Regions from separate parts of the Homo sapiens genome. Here region 1 is linked to region 2. The links are contacts of gene promoters, found by promoter capture Hi-C in blood cells and fetal thymus (Javierre and others, 2016). All regions are on one chromosome and are shown on one strand. The core of a region is centred on a gene start or on the middle of the fragment in contact, and the rest is flanking DNA. Distances in the headings are between cores, read along the strand shown.

Evidence for each region. Contacts are between HindIII fragments. The CHiCAGO score rates a contact against its expected background, and 5 or more counts as called.
Region 1: a fragment that was not itself captured here is called in contact with the fragment with the promoter of TMX4 in region 2 in 1 of 17 cell types (monocytes); the score reaches 5.2 in monocytes.

What each region holds. Positions count from the first base shown.
Region 1 is chr20:9,400,587-9,405,820 of GRCh38, reverse strand. It overlaps PLCB4 (phospholipase C beta 4), which reads right to left. Exons shown (of 40, transcript NM_001377142.1): 20 at 4,231-4,331; 21 at 473-508. Among named protein-coding and RNA genes, the nearest start is that of LAMP5, 110 kb to the left of the region's middle. The HindIII fragment of the contact is 8,869 bases long and covers 1-5,234 here.
Region 2 is chr20:8,017,051-8,022,288 of GRCh38, reverse strand. TMX4 (thioredoxin related transmembrane protein 4) reads left to right here and starts at 2,528. Exons shown (of 8, transcript NM_021156.4): 1 at 2,528-2,851. The coding sequence starts at 2,676. It overlaps TMX4-AS1 (TMX4 antisense RNA 1), which reads right to left and starts at 2,383. Exons shown (of 7, transcript NR_184034.1): 1 at 2,185-2,383; 2 at 1,028-1,898; 3 at 134-230. RefSeq lists silencers at 2,528-2,767, 2,878-3,017. The HindIII fragment of the contact is 3,626 bases long and covers 1,821-5,238 here.

The DNA of each region.
Region 1 (5,234 bases), core at 1,303-3,802, 1.4 Mb before region 2:
ACCACTGTGATCACTTGAAGAACTTTGAAGAGGATGAAAGAAAGTGAAAATGTAACTTTACCTTTCCTACAATAAGGCCAATAGCTAATAACATCAAATAATACTCTTAGAAGTTATGCAGTGTAAAATTAATCAGTGATCTTCCAGAATGTCAATGTAGTGGGAACTAAGATCATCCTTTCTATTATGCTATAATATGGATTTGATGACCTATTCACTCATTTTTATTTTCAAATTCAATATGCTGATGATCATGTAGTTCCACTGCAGGAATGAAATCTCTAATTCCAGTGAAGAAAATGCCTTACTGCATTAAATACCTACTTTTAGAAAATCATCTTACTCATCTGCCCTAGTTTTGTGATTTTTATCAGGATTTAATCATTTTTTCACCACAACTGATTCCTTCCTTTGAAGATTTTTTAAATTAGATGCATCTGATTTAAAATGTGCAAGGGAATTATTTTGTTACCTTTTTGTTGTTTTCATGTTCAAGGTCATCTGAAGCCTAATTAGAGAAAGGAAATAATTTGTTTACTTCTCTAAAGGGCAAAATTCCAAATTTATTAGCCATACATACATAGATATTTAAATAAGTGTAGGTAAACTTGTTATTCTATTTATTTGCTAAGGTGGGACATTACTGATGACAAAAAGCCATGGATGGCCTCACTGTTTTATGCACCAGAAGGGCTAATCTTAATGCTCTTTCCCTCCTTCGTGGACAGTCTTTACCTACTTAGATGTTTTATTATAATTATTTAATTAGTGCTTTAGTCATGGGGCTTAGGAAAAGCAGCATGAATGGTCACTCTTGAGTAACTCAGCATTCATGTCTGGGTATTTGTTATGGACTGTTTGCTGGTGCAGCCCCCCATACTGTCCCCAATTCATATACTGAAACCTTAATTCTCATGTGATGGCATTTGAAGATGGGGCCTTTGGGAGGTAATTTGGTCATGAGGGCCAAGCCAAGAGAGAGCTTGCCTCCTTATTCTCTGTCCACCACATGAGGACATAAACACGAAGAAGGCCCCCCACATTAGGAACTGATTGCGTGGAACCTTGATCTTAGACTTCTTAGACTCTAGAATGGTGACAAATAGTTTTCAGTTGTTTAAGCCAATGGTATTTTTGTGATAGCAGCACCAACTGACTAAGACACTAAGACAATATTGATGAAGGCTTTAGCAACTTTTTTTTTTTTTTTTTTTTTGAGACACAGTCTTGCTCTGTTGCCCAGGCTGGAGTGCAGTGGCACAATCTTGGCTCACTGCAACCTCCGCCTTTTGGGTTCAAGCAGTTCTCCTGCCTCAGCTTCCTGAGTAGCTGGGATTACAGGCGCGTACCATGGCGCCTGGCTAATTTTTGTATTAAAACAATACTCTTGAGTCTTAATAGATGTTCAATATTCTCAGAGTAGTCACAATTCCCTATATCAGAAAAGATAGTGTGTAAAGGCAATATTCCTTTGGCTTTGCTCATCAGACAAATACTCTCCCCTCTTCCTATCACCAAATGTATCTGCCTACCTGCATCTTCATCCACTGTCTTCACTAATCAGGTGTTCCTGCTCCTGTGAAGGGCCACACCTTTGCACCACAGCAATCCCACCCTCTTCCACCTCCTCAAGGAATTCCAGGCAGTTATCCCCTCTCTTTCCTGCAAAACTAATCTCTTCCTCTCTACTGCACCACTTCCAAGTTTTCAAACACACTCCAGATTCATTCATCCGAAAAAGAAAACACTCCCTTGACTCCTCAGGTGCCCTTGGCCACCAGTCCATTTCTTGCTCCCCTTCACATCAAAACTTCTCAAAAGCATAGTCTCTAGTCATTCATATCTGTGTGATCCAGTGTCACCACCCTGCCTGGCACTCCACTGAAATGTCTCTTTAAGGTTGCCAACGACCTCCATGCTAACAACCCAAAGGACACTCTTGAGTCTTCTTACTTAATCAGTCAGTAGCATTTGTTAAATTAAGTTTAGCCTAAAGGTGTCTCTTTACCTATTCTAAAGGTTTTTTCATAAACTTTCACATAGTAAACTGTAGACTGAATGGGTGTGTAAACAGACTGGAACCTACTCATGTGCCAATCACTGAGTTTCAGCCAATCAAAGGTGGCCAACTATTCAACCTCTGTTCAAATAAGGCAAATAAGCCTGTAACCAATACAGCTGCTTCTGTACCTCACTTCTGTTTTCTGTAGGTCACTTTCCTTTTTCTGCCAAAAAATCTTCCACCACATGGCTGCACTGGAGTTTCTCTGAACCTCTTCTGGTTTGGGTCCTGCCCAATTTGGGAATTGTTTTTTTTGCTCAACTAAACTCTGTTAAATTTAATTTGTCTAAGATTTTTAACATATTCTACAGTCAACCACTCAGTCCTTCTGTTAACACTGTTCTCTTTCCTGGTTTTCTTGGTGTCACTGCCTAATTTCCCTCCTACTTCTCTAGCCATACCTTGCTCTTCTTTTCTGGCTCCACTTTTAACTAGGGCTCCACTTGGGCCTTCTTTTCCACCTTTCCTTGTGAATCATCTCAGTATTTCCATTGTTTCAAATACGATCTTTTGAACTCCCAACTTGTATCTCTAGCTCAACCTGTCTTCTATATACGCGTGATAATGACGCCAGTGATCATGAGGATAATGACAATGATAAAGATGAAAAGGATGATAATATACCAGCAACTAATACCTTTACAGGAGTTACCATGTACCAGGCACCACGCTAAGCTCTTGACATGTCACAAACCATCCACTCTTCACAGTGACCCCATGAAATAGGTGTTATCGTCTTCACTTTGCAGATGAGGAAACTAAGGTACACAGAGGTTAAGTAACTTACCCAAAGTTAGACAGTTAGGAAATGAACCCAGAGAAAGAGTCAGATGGCAATGCTATATGAACACCTCCCCTTGAATACTTCACAGGCATCTCAAATAGTCATCCCATTTGAAACTCCTGAATTCTTTCTCTTTCGGTCTTCCCCATGCCAGTAAATGGTACCATCACCTACCCAGTTCCTCAAACAAGGACACTAGAGGGTCATCTCACTTCTTCTTTCTCTCTCATTCCCACATTCCATCCATCAGTAGGCTGTCCCATTTCTCAATATGTCTTGAAGCCACTCAGTCCTCTCTGATGCATTGTCTGGTTTGACCATCGGGGACTCTCGTCTGGCCTAGAGCAGCAGCCTGTCCTCACTGCTTTTCCTGCTTCCACTCCTGTTTCCTCCTAAACTAGTCTCCATATGGCAACCACAGCAATCTTTTAAAACTTGAATCAGGCTACACTGCCCCCTTCTCTAAACTTTTTCAGTAGTGTCACATTTCACTGAATATTTGAATTTCTCATAATGGCCTCCAAAATCCTACATCACCCAGTTCCCACCTACCTGCCTCATCTCGTCTCACTCCACCCTCACTCAAGCCACTCTACTCACAGCCCTTGCTGTTGTTACTGTGGTCCCTCCGCATGGAAAGTGATTCATCAACCTCTGTGCATGGCCAATTCCTCTTGACCCTTTGCGTTCTGGTTTCCTTATTCTTTCTACTTCATTATTCTTCAGCATGCGTGTTTATGTTCATAATTGCACTCACCGTAAGTTGTAATTATATAGTTATTTGACTACTTGCTTGTTTGCTGTTTCCGATCCCTTTCCCTAAACTACAGGGGGCCATGAGCTGCCTAAGGGCAGAAGGCAAGTGTGTTTTACACTTTTAGGTCATTATGGCCTAGACTATGCCTGACAAAAGGTAAGTATATGAATAACTATTTTCCTTGGCTGAATATCTGGAAACATTTTTATGCTTACTGTACTTTAGGGGGAAGGTATATAATTAGCAGGACTAGTTCTCAAATGAGGGCTAGACTCGGGATGTTCAGGGGTCATTTTCCTGATGAATTCAAGATTAAATCTTACCCCTGGGATGCTGTCATTTTCTCCCTCCCCAGCTGCAATAACACAATAAATGATAATATTTAGAGGACACTGGCCAAATGGGTAGTGGTTAACACTGGCCCTGACTAATGAGTAATTTAAATGTCCTTTTAAATTTAATATTGTGTATGTGTCAAGTTCTGGTCACCCAGCACAGACTCGTATCCTAAGCAATTTAGAAGGGGAATTATAGGTTACTTTATTCTCTTGTGGTTCTCACATTTCCAAAATTTCATAAATAACAGCTGCTACCTCTTGAGAGTGATGAAAGAAAGGGGACTCTGACCTTCTTGACGCTATTTGCAACAGCTTCCTTGTGACCCAAGTCATCAGCAGAAAGTTCATTTCCAAATTTGAATTCGGGGTGAGCTTCCTCCTCTTGGTCAGCTGTGTGAAAGACAAATGGAAAATCCATGACACCAAACCACTGCCAAGTAGTCAGACCTTGTTCACAATCTTGGGTAGAACATAAGCACTTTTAGAGAAAAAGGATGCTAAAAGAAAATGGGGACATTGATATATGCAGTATTTTTTCAAGTAAAACTCTCACTAAACTCTTACCTATTCAACGTCAAGGAGCACATCTTGTTATGTATTATTTCTCCTGCTCCTAAAATGTGGTTTGAAATGCTTGATGCTTAATAAATTTTTTTTAAGTGGATGGCTACTTCTATTCTAGTATACTAATTCTAAAAATGAAAGCCTCAAACACTGCAGGAATATCTATAACTCATAAAAAGGTGTTTTGATCTTTCATGACATCAAGAGCAAATAAGAAGATGCAAGAAAACAAATACATCGGATAATTTTGAAAGAGACTAAAATGTCCACTTGAATTTTATGGGCATAATGACTTATAGCTTGGAGTGGTAGAAAAAAGAAAGGCCTCAGAAGGATTGTGCTACTCCTGCAAACTATTTGTCAAACCTAGCATAGGTTTCAAAGGCTCAGGGCTCATTTGTCAGGCTCAGGTAGGAGGAGAAGTGGAAGTGGGTGCCAAATAAAGCTGGTGTCCCTGGAGCGTGGTCTAGTCTGTGAAAGGAAGTACACACACTGTGTTCATTGGTCCAGGAAAGTGACAAGAATGCCAGAATCCACCCAGGATGTTCGTGGGGAAAAAAAAGAAGTACCTGCTGGAAAATGTGCAACATGCTGAGGTGAGATTTGGATTCACACAATCACTATTTGCAGTAATTCCCAGATAAAGAATTTGCCTAAAATCTAGCCAGGATCAGGAGAAACCCACAGACATCAGGATGAGGACAATATAAATCCACATGGTCACACCAC
Region 2 (5,238 bases), core at 1,279-3,778:
TAGCTACATATAAATGCATTATACTATGAAAGGTATGTGGTGAAGTTATTGTATTAGTCCATTTTCACGCTGCTGATAAAGACATACCCGAGACGGGGTAATTTATACAGGAAAAAGTGTTTATTCAACTCACAGTTCCTCATGGCTGGGGAAGCCTCACAATCATGGTGGAAGGCACGGAGGAGTAAGTCATGTCTTACGCGGATGGCAGCAGGCCAAAAGAGAGACAGCTTGTGCAGGGAAATTACCATTTTTAAAACCATCAGATCTCATGAGACTTATTCACTATCACGAGAACAACATGGGAAAGACCCGCCCCCATGATTCAATTATCTCCCATGGGGTCCCTCCCACAACACGTGGGAATTAGGGGAGCTACAAAATGTGATTTGGATGGGGACACAGAGCCAAACCATATCAGTTATACAGAAGAGCAATTGGATCTGAGAAGAGACAGCAGCTCATTCTGCATGAGCTATCAGAGGTACAGTGTGGACTACATGACAGAGACTGAATGATTCACTGGACAACTGGAGAAGAGTGTTCTAATCAGAATGAAGGAGCAAGGAGACACTGAAGTACACAATGTGCTTTGGGAATGGGGAGTAGCTTTGTGTTACTAGGACACAGGGAACTCTGGGAATAGTGGAATGTAAAGTGGGCAAAACTGAAGCTGGGCTGTGAGAGGCATTGTGTATCATGCTAAGTGAAGTTAACTTTAGTATAAGAAAAATAGACATTACAGCGTATTGTTGCCTCCAAATAATAATATTAGTGTTGGCAATATTGTGGCAAAAACCACAATTATGTTTGCACCAACCTAATATGTAAGCTTTTTGAGTTAGAATATGTGCTAGGCATTATTCTTATCTCATATAATCTTCACAGCCACCTTTTGGAGCAGGTTCTATTACTACCCGCATTTTAAGAGAACTTTGGTGTGGACTAGTTTTAGCCCCAAATCACATGGCTAGGAAGTGTCAGGGCTAAGATGCCAATCATGGTCTGACAGCAACAGGTCCCTTACCCTGGTCTGTGACTCCTTACGGCAAGGTCAGTCCCATACTTCCTTGCTACTTTCTTCCTACCATCCTTAGTCTGAAGGCTAAGACTTCAGTTTTTGTTAAAGATAGGAAATGCTTTGGTAATGGCTGTCTTTCATGCTGAAGATGCTCTCTCTCCTTTTAGCTTTTCATTTTGTAAATTTTCCAACATATGCATGAGTAGGTAAAGTAGCAAAATGAACTTAGCTTCAACACTGACTGATGTTGCACCACTTTTCTTTCACCTATCTTCTTTCCATTCCCTACATTTTATTTCTGGAGCATTGTAAAACAAATTCTACACATCATTCTATCATGAAAGTGATAAAATGACAGAATTCCTGTTTATGAGTCACTTCTTTTTACAAGCACAGTAAAATGTTTTCCATTGAGTTTATGGAATTGATATGTATGTACTTAATAACAGTGAGTCTTAGTAGCATTCATTGCAAAGACATTTTCTTAAATTTCAATAGTTTGTAAACCCTTGAGTGTTTTATTTTAATGATAAGGGCTAGGTCCACATAGTTTTTAGCTAATACTAATTAATGCATAATGCAGGCCAGATCTTCTCTTCAGGCAAAATTAACTTCCCTCTCCTATAAGTATTGATTGAAATTTGCTCTCATGTGCCCTGAAGTACTTTTAGTCTTATTGCTGTCTTTGTTTTAAGCCGAGGGCAGAAACCACATCCTTTTCATGGTCTATTAACCACATTACCGAGGTTCATGGTTTGCACAACTAGTAAACACATACAAAGCACCCTTTGAGAAAGCTTCCTCATCCTTTAATTGTAATCCAGTCTTATATATTAACGGTGTGGTGGTCCCAAGGTACAGATTCATCTAATGTGACCTGGAAAGAAATTTGGAAATCACTTAAGGCTACCCTCATTTTAGATCTGACAAAACTGTAGTCAAGAGAAATGTGAGGTCCATTTTACTGCAGGTGGCAATAGTCTTAATTGACTCATTTTATCGGCTAGTACCCATGTTTTTAAGAGTTTCTATGAAATTAACATTTTTTGTAAAAAAAATGCAATTGCATAGGCTAGTTTCATCAATATCCTAAATTAGTGATGCTTCAATATACACATGCAGAGTACTTAAATTTTCCTCTCTCTTCAGCAGGAGATACTCACCACGTCCCTCCATTTTTCATTAAACATACGTGTACCTTGCAGCCCGTTGCTTTTATATTTGCTATCATTGAAGAGGGGATGGATTTTAAAATTACTGGCCATGTTTCCCTTTAGAGAAGCCCACACGCGCCAACCCTGCCCTTATTGGAGCCTGGGCAGCAGCGGTGCATGTTCTAACTTAGGCAACGTTGGGTCATCTGTTTATTGTCAGCTTGGCGGTCAGGAAGAAAGGGCGGTGGTTGCTGAGGTAACCGACACCCCGGGCAACGGCAAGTGGAGGCGGGAGGGGGCGTGGCCTCGACGGGCAAGCGGCGATAAGAGGTGGCGTCCTCCGCGGCATTGCGAGCACCGCCAGTCTGCGCCGCTAGGCGTAGGCGGGGTGGCCCTTGCGTCTCCCGCTTCCTTGAAAAACCCGGCGGGCGAGCGAGGCTGCGGGCCGGCCGCTGCCCTTCCCCACACTCCCCGCCGAGAAGCCTCGCTCGGCGCCCAACATGGCGGGTGGGCGCTGCGGCCCGCAGCTAACGGCGCTCCTGGCCGCCTGGATCGCGGCTGTGGCGGCGACGGCAGGCCCCGAGGAGGCCGCGCTGCCGCCGGAGCAGAGCCGGGTCCAGCCCATGACCGCCTCCAACTGGACGCTGGTGATGGAGGGCGAGTGGATGCTGAAATTGTGAGTGTGCCCGCCCGCCCCGGACGCCGCAGTGTCCTCGCGGGCGTCACCCTCCCAAGCCCGCGCGGCCCGGTGGCGATCCCGCATTGCCGCTTGGGCTCAACCTAAAACCCCGGACCAGGCTTGCCAACAACCTGCGGCGCCGGTGCCGGGCCGCTTGCGATCCTGCACTGCCGCTGGGCTCGACCTGGGGTCCGCGGACCCGCCTTACCAACGACCTGCGGCTGTGGGGCCCGGCCGCTCGCGCCGCGCATGCGCGCCGAGCCCTCGCGGTGACAGCCGAGGGTGCAGCGCGTCCCCTTGCTTTGGGGGACAGTGTTTTCGGGGTGGAGTGGGCAGCTTCCCATAGGGAGGAGAAGGGAAGGAAGAAAATCTGCAAGCAAACCGTGTGCTTTTAGATACAGATATGTATTGGAAGAGAAAGGACATTCAGTGACATCCACGTGCAGTATGAATACGTAGCACAGGCTAAGCAAGTTACCTGTTGAAGAAATTGCAGCACGGTGAAGGCAGGCCATTTGTGTCGTAGTCTTCCGTTTGAAGACCTGGAGATGTCATTGTGAGAATAAAACATAAATATGGATGCCTTTTAAATTTTACAGTATGATTTCAAATAAATGTTGATACTTATTATAACTTGTAAAGGTAGGACTTTCTGAGTAATATTAATAATTGTGCCATAAAGAAAAGAAGATACGCATTGCCCCTTTTAACAATAGAAAGCAAATGGTGGATAGTGCCTTTTCTTTAAGGAGATGGGAAACTACAGTTTTGAGTTAGGAGAAAGAAAGGGATTTGTTGATTATAGTTTAACCTTATAATAGGAAGTGACCATTTGAAAGAGGCTTGCAGTGGATGGTGGGCAGATGTCTGAGCGGGCTTGAGAGACCATCATGGTGGGCTTGCAGACTCTCTCTCTCTCTCTCTCTCTCTCTCTCTCTCTCTCTCTCTCTCTCCCCCTCCCTCCCTCCCTCCCTCCCTCCCTCCCCCTCTCTCTCTCTCTCCTCTCTCTCTTCTCTCTCTCTCTCTCTCCCTCCCTCCCTCCCTCTCTCTCTCTCTCCTCTCTCTCCTCTCTCTCTCTCTCTCTCCCTCCTCTCTCTCTCTCTCTCTCTCTGTCTCTCTCTCCCCTCCCACAACTCCTTTCCACCCTACCTGCCCCCCTCCCGCCCCCACCCCCCAAACATAAAATCTTTCAGGAAATTGCCACATCTCTTTAGCCTGTGGTTTCTGGCAATCTGTATACTACTATTGAATCTTTGTTTTACGTTGAGGACACAGACAGAAAATTGGATCTTTCCTTTATCCAAGACCAAGTTTTGATTCTTTCAATTTAAATTGCAAGCAGGTGCCTATGGAGTGAAAACCTCAGTGTGAGATCAGAGCCAAAATTTATGTCACACAGCAGATTACATTGCTCGAAGAACATAAGGCATATCACCCCTTCAAATGTGCATTTACCTCTTAGTCACAAAGAAGGGGATATTTTAGACCTCCAAATGAAATACCCTTGGTATCATAATAAATCAATGAAATTATTAAAGGGAACTGTAGACATGAATTATTAAAATATTCCACTTAACTATTTTTGGAAGAAGGTGAGGGGGTCATATTCTATTTGAGAAACTTTTAAAATAAGTGGAGCTGTGTTAAGACTTCCATGTTTGTAATAATTTTAAGAGTTTGGGATAAACTGCATTTTGTCAGCCAATACTACAGAAAGTTCTCTTTTCAGTAGGTGCTTACAAAATGGACTTTTTCCTAGATGTCATCTTTCAGGGTAAAACTGAGTTTGCATATGTATGTAAGAAAAGTTAAAACAGAAAGGCCTCCTCATTTTTAATGACTTCAACTCCTCTATGGTTCCTTTTGGAATTGCTTTTTTTTTGGTAATAGAATTAAGAACACTAAAGCCTCAATAAGTTTTTGAGGGAGAGCCAACAACATCTGTGCTTGGCCATGTTGATGGTTCAAATTTTACTTTTTTATGAATGTATAAACCTAAACATAGTAATCAATTGCTCTGAGTTTGTCATGTGTCCAGTTGTATGGAATATGCTTGGCCTGTGATGCCAGATGAGTCTTGTAATCTGGAAGTAAGCTGTGTAGACACAAGGTCATTTTAGTAGACATTCTCTTTTTATCGAGTGCACTTCAGAATAGGTGGCTAGGAAGCAAGGCTGTCAATGAAAATTGATCCAAACCATTCCATCCAACTTCTTTATACGCACTAAAACCCAAGTGCTCATCCTGAAGAAATATTTTGGTTCTTATCTATTTGTGATCTATTTTTTTCTGTATTATCAGGTGATACTCCTCCTCCTTGCTGTGAAAAAAACTCCAGTACTTAAAAAAATATAAAATTCATTATATCCTCCATACCACTAGAG